Linked DNA regions of Homo sapiens: region 2 is linked to region 1. The links are contacts of gene promoters, found by promoter capture Hi-C in human tissues and cell types (Jung and others, 2019). All regions are on one chromosome and are shown on one strand. Each heading gives the region's core, a stretch centred on a gene start or on the middle of the fragment in contact. The rest is flanking DNA. Distances are from core to core; before and after follow the strand shown. Region 1 overlaps DIP2B (disco interacting protein 2 homolog B). Region 2 holds the start of GPD1 (glycerol-3-phosphate dehydrogenase 1).

Evidence for each region. Contacts are between HindIII fragments. The study calls those that stand out against the background at their distance.
Region 2: a contact is called between the fragment with the promoter of GPD1 here and a fragment that was not itself captured in region 1, in 3 of the 25 tissues and cell types used here (dorsolateral prefrontal cortex, hippocampus and mesenchymal stem cells).

What each region holds. Positions count from the first base shown.
Region 1 is chr12:50,536,728-50,539,732 of GRCh38, reverse strand. The region is part of intron 1 of DIP2B (disco interacting protein 2 homolog B); the gene reads right to left. Among named protein-coding and RNA genes, the nearest start is that of DIP2B, 33 kb to the right of the region's middle. The HindIII fragment of the contact is 3,334 bases long and covers 1-3,005 here.
Region 2 is chr12:50,102,399-50,105,403 of GRCh38, reverse strand. GPD1 (glycerol-3-phosphate dehydrogenase 1) reads right to left here and starts at 1,396. Exons shown (of 8, transcript NM_005276.4): 1 at 1,313-1,396; 2 at 653-830. The coding sequence starts at 1,353. RefSeq lists an enhancer at 2,337-2,386. The HindIII fragment of the contact is 8,009 bases long and covers 1-3,005 here.

The DNA.
Region 1 (3,005 bases), core at 372-2,871:
CCACGGGGCCTTCAGAGGTGTTTTAAGCTTTTAGTTCTCAAACTAGATCATGGATCTACCAGTGTTCAATCTATTATTCTTCTTTAATCTGTGGATACTTTTTTTTTTTTTTTTGAGACAGAGTATTTCACTCTTGTTGCCCAGGCTGGAGCGCAATGGCATGATCTTGGCTCACTGCAACCTCCGCCTCTCAGGCTCAAGCGATTCTCCTGCCTGTCTCCTGAGTAGCTGGGATTACAGGCGCCTGCCACTACGCTCAGCTAATTTTTGTATTTTTAGTAGAGACGGGGTTTCACCATGTTGGCCAGGCTGGTTTCAAACTCCTGACCTCAGGTGATCCACCCGCCTAGGTTTCTCAAAAGTGCTGGTATTACACCACACCCGGCCTGTGCATACACTTTATATATATTCTTTTGTATGTAATATTCCATAAGAGATAGTGCCACTGCACTCCAGCCTAGGCGACAGAGCAAGACTCTGTCAAAAAAAAAAAAAAGAAAAAAGAAAAGAGCGAGCTACCTAGAGCCAAACGGGATGAAAGAGAAAAGACACATGCCTAGACACATCCTAATGAAATTTCAGAACTCCAAAGACAAAAAGCAAACCCTAAAAGCTTCCGAAGTATTCAAGTGGGCTACATTCAAATGACAATCAAATGAGACAAAGACGTTTTTGAAAGGCAAGAACTTAAAGCTCAACACGCATGCATCCCATATTAAAAACAGTAACTATTCCAAGTTTTTAAAAAATACAAGAAAAATGACAATTTAAAGTATAAGAAACAACAGCAGTTGAGTAAGACCTAAAAGGAGCATAGAAAGCTGGAAAGAAATTGAAAGAGGATTCACTAGATCTTGATGATTGGGCCATTCTCTTTGAAGCAGTTTGGTAATAAAATACTATGTTTGCTTTTCCCAGTATTCAACAGCACCTCTAGATTCCAAAGTAAATAATATTTACTTAATAATATTGCAAAAACTGTATGTGTGGAATATGTTTAGGCTTAATTTGTACATACAGAGTGAAGACTAATTTTTGTTATACAAAAGAGAATATAAACATTATTTACTTTGATAACAGAAAAATAGTAATATTATTACAAAAAAAAACTCAGGAAGAAAAGAGTACAAGAAATGGGTAAATTTCTCATGGTTCACAGAAGGGGATCAAGAGACACTGTTGACTGCAACATATTACTGAAAGTTACACTATTAACTACAGGAACTACAAAACTGACTTTAGAAAGTAGCTACATTTTGGGAAGTGGGACTGGGCACGGAGGTGGGGTGGGGCTATTTTCCATTTCATACTTCTGTGTCCACTCCAAATTCATGCTGACTATCGGCAATGCTTTCAGTGTTTCATTAATTCCTCTCACACTCCCCGATGGCTGATGCACTTGTTCTCTTCACATTTCTCAAACCCTTAAGCTTTCACCTTTCTGAACCTTTTCCCTTTATCCCCACACCAACCTCCCTCTGAGGTGGAATTTTTCACTCATCCTCTTCTTCTTATTAGAGAAGGAGAGAACAGCAGCCCTGCCCTCCTGTTCTCAAGCAGCTCACCTCTTCCACACATCCAGAGATCTAACCTATGCCCAGCTCTCCCACACCAACACAAGCTTTTCTTTCCTCTGTCTCTTTCCCTTAGCCCTATGAAGACTCCTCGGTATCTATTAAGAAGTAATAGTAAAGTAAAATAAATAAGTACTCTTTTGAATCCATCCTTGTTCTTTATTCCTTTTTCCCAACTTCAAAATAAGAAGCCTGCGCTCACCATTTCTATGTCCTCATTCCCGTTTTCAATCTAGCCTCTGATTCTGCCACAGGACTGTAACTGACAAATCCAGTCCTTTGTATTCTCTCACTGAATTATCCTAAGCTCTCCATAGGTTTAACATTACTATTTGTCTCCACAGAAGCACCACACCACCCACCCCAGTCCACCTCCTACTTCTGTGACTGATCACCCCTGTCATTTTGGATGACTCTTCTTTCTCCTCTAGCTTCCTAAACAGAGGCATTCCTCATTAGCTTCATTTTTTACTTTCCTTTTCAAAGATCTGATTCACCTGATGAATCACATGAAGATGATGCCCAAATCCTTCAACAGCTCCAGGATATAATTCACCACTTCTAACTGCCTATTGAACAGCCACTCGAATGTCCTCCCAATGCCATTTGTTGACTGGGATGGTCTTCCCACATTGTCATAGACTCCAACATGTCCAAAATTAAACTCTTCACCCCAAACCGGCAACTCAGATGTTTGTATATATAACACACTATCACTCGCCTGGTCACTCAAACTCAAAATCTGGGCCATTTTTTACTCAATCCCTACCTATTCCCTCACATCCTACCGATTTCCTTCCCTCAATGTTTCACAACAGGTAAGGTAAAAATGAATAAGACATGGTTTCTAGCCTCTGGGAAGAATAGAGAAGTGTAAACAAACAATTATAAAGCAATCTGGCAGGTGCAGTGGCTCTAGCCTATAATCCCAGCACTTTGGGAGGCCAAGGCAGGTGGATCGCTTGAGCTCAGGAATTCAAGACCAGCCTGGGAAACAAAGTGAGACCCTGTCTCTACAAAAAAAAAAAAAAAAAAAAAAAAAAATTAGAGAATAATAAACAAGCAATCTGGTAAGTGTGACCAAAAAAATTAAAAAAAAAAAAGCACAGGATAATGAGTTTGGGGGTAGGGGAGAAAGGAGATTAGGAGAAGGATTCAACAGGCTACAAGGTGTCAGAGTCAGAACTAAAGTCCTGTCCCCTAATCCTCACTAGGCCAAAACAACAGCACACACTCTGAATAATTAAGCATATGCCTTGCATTAAGACAGTTCAACATTAAAAAAAAAAAATACAATTATTGTGGCTCACACCTGTAATCCCAGCACTTTGGGAGGCCGAGGCAGGCAGATCACTTGAGGTCAGGAGTTCGAGACCAGCCTGGTCAACTTGGAGAAACACCGTCTCTACCAAAAAATACAAAAATTAGCTG
Region 2 (3,005 bases), core at 147-2,646, 430 kb after region 1:
TTGGAGGAATAAGACACTCTACTCCCTCCCCCCAGCTACCACTCTGTCTCCCTCCAGCTGTCCTGGGCTCTTGAGGACTCCTGGAAACCTCATCCCAGCACTCTCCTATCCCTTGGCTGTGGGACAGTGCGGGAGGCCAAAAGCAGCCTGGGCTTGGCAAAAGAAAGAGCTCAAATAAGATTTCATCACCCAGCTCCTCAGGAACCCCAGCTGGGAAGGGGGAGCCCCAGCCTTTCTGCTCTCTTCCCTGCTTCCCCTTTCCAGGTGGGGAGAGCCACGTGGATTTGACCAAAGACCGTAAGTCCAAGGAGCAGCCTCCAAGTCGGCTACTCACTCAGTGAATGAGTAACAGGATTAGTGCCGGAGGCAGGCACTACTGGACCCCAAGTCTGGGAGCCCAGTCTTTGGCTGCCATGGAGACCAACTTGTTCTCCCATCCCTTCCCCACCCACCCGCCTGGGAGCCTGTGAGGGGAAAGCATAGGTTCTCCTCAGTCCTCAGGAAAGGGCCCAGAGCAGCCCTCCTGAGACCTTCCCAAGTCCTGCTGCACCTGAAGCGGCCCTCTCAGCAGGAGGCACCTGTTGAGTAAGGTCGGCTCCAACTCCTGGCCCTCCCTTCCTCTCCCTGTTCTTCGCAGGGTGTTGGGGCTCACCACATTTGGGGGCAACTTGTGCCCTGGCAGGTATTTGACATTCTCATGCTGCGTGTTGATGATCTCAGTCAGCTTTTTGCCTCCAATGTCTTCCTCAAATACCCACATGGTCACCCGTGGGTCAAACTGTGCCAGCTGGGCTGCATTGCCACCCACGATCTTGGCGATGGCTGAGCCCCTGGTGGGAGGGGGAGCACAGGAAAGTACAGGAGGAGGGAACAGTGGCAGGAGTTGGGGCAGCGCCCCACCTCAGGATCTCACAGCAGCCCCCCAGGCTGTTCACTCCTACCTACCTTCCTTATCACCTCCACTCCCATGACAAATAGTCCCCAGTGACCTGGCAGTAGAAAGGAGACTCAGTCTCCTCACCCTTTGCTACTAGAGAAGGGAGCCCCACTTCTCATCTTCCCACCCCCAAACTCAAGCGGCTCTTCACATAGAGAGCTCTGGAGACGCCTTCCCATGGTGAACAGGTGCAGCTGCCCAGGAGGGCGGGGGTCAGGAGAGGGCCGGGCACCGTCTGTCCTGTGCTGCTATGATAGAAGATAGCAGCAGGGGCTGAACAGGAACCTGAGGGCCTTTCCCACCCATTCTGCCTCCTACCCACCTCTGTCTTGGGGGGCCTACCCTTCCCCCATATCACTTGACAGAGCTGCTTACCAGTTCCCGGAGCCTACAATGCAGACTTTCTTGCTAGCCATGGTGCCGCGTCTCTGCCTGAGCCGGCTCAGTGCCACACTCCCTAGCTCCTCTGCCGGCTAGGAGCATTTAACTCCACCACACGTGGGTGCAGCCAAGCCCCGCCCTCCAGGGGTGGGTGGGGAGGCTGGCGCCCAGGGAGATAGAGAGTCTGGCAGAGCCAGGGAAAGGAGAGACAGGGGTACAGACAGGTGTGGAACAGGAATGGGGCAGAGACTAGGCCCAGCTTTTTCTCCTGGGCTCATCGGCTGACAGTGCTGGCAAGCTTCTTCCCTTGGCCCCAGCCCAGCTTCCCACCATGGTCTCATTTTGAGGTCTGCTAAGAAAATAGCCCAGATAAGGAGCAGGTGACTGCTCTCCCTTGCTCCTTTCTGTCCCCCAGCATGAAATAAATTGTATTTAGCTTCAGTAGCAGCTAGGGGAATGCTTTTCAGAGGTAGGCTCCTCCATGACCCCCTATCCCCCCGCCAACCCTGCCACATATCCTCACAGGACCCTGTTCCACAGTTCTGTCCTCCAGCAGGCCCACGCTAGCTCCACTGCAGGGCTGGGGTGGGGGATGTGGGCCCACTTCCCACCTCTAAAGATGAGGCCACATAAGAGGTAAGGGCCTGCTTTGAGGACAGCCCAGCTCAAAAAAGGATGAGAGACTCCAGGTGCCTCAAAAGACAAGATTGTCTTGGTCACCCACAGAGGTCATCTTGGGGACTCATCCATGGGCCTCTCAGATGATCCCCACCCAAAAATGTGTTCTAGGGAAGGTGGGAAAGGTTAAAGTTAGAGAGCTCTGAGAATTGCGGTACACAATTTTGTTGTAGACTCTGGGCTTAAGAGGACAGGAGAGAATAGGAGGCAGGCAGAGTGCACACTGTCCTTGAAAGGCTTTGAGCCTCCTTCAACTCCTCCTCTCAGGGGTTTCCAAGGTACTGCCCCAGGGGCTTCATCAGGTGAATGGCTAGTTTGCAGAGGCCAGAAAAGGGGAAGGCAGGCAGTACCCGGGGCAGCTGTGTCCGTGGGGCTTTGTGGTCTCAGATGCTGTGATTGGGGGTAAGTTTGGTGTATGTTTTTTGGGGAAGGGCGAGAATGGAAGGAGCACCCTCAGCAGTTCAGGGCTCTGCATCGCCCACGGCCATCTGTTTGTCTAAGACGAGGGAAGCTCTGGTTTCCAGGCTGATCTGGAGAGTGGAGCAAGAGGCTCCTAACACTGTGCACCTTGGCCTAGAGGGCAGACACCACTGTGTGCTCATGTGCTGACCTCCTGGCTTGGCAGACGGCTAGGTGGGTGTTGCCATCCCCCTGGGCTGTTGCTGGCCAGCAACTGGTAACAAGCACTGGGCTACAGGGGAGTCTGTGTGCAACCCATGGGTAGGAGTAAGCAGGCAGGAGGTCAAGACTGGGGAGAAATGGCTTTCTAAGTTCCGGGGACTGCCCAGGAAAAACCAACCATATTCTCCTTCCATGGCCAGTAATTTCCCATAGGGAAACGGACATGAAATCAGTAGTTGGCTGTTTTTCTTAGCACAATGTTATACCTAATACAGAAACAGCCTCCCACAGACCACTCCTTTATTGCACTGGCACTGAGATGAAGGCTCCAGTGCCAGGCTGCCAGCTGGGAGCACTGATTACGGGTGATGGAAGAGAAAGGATGCTT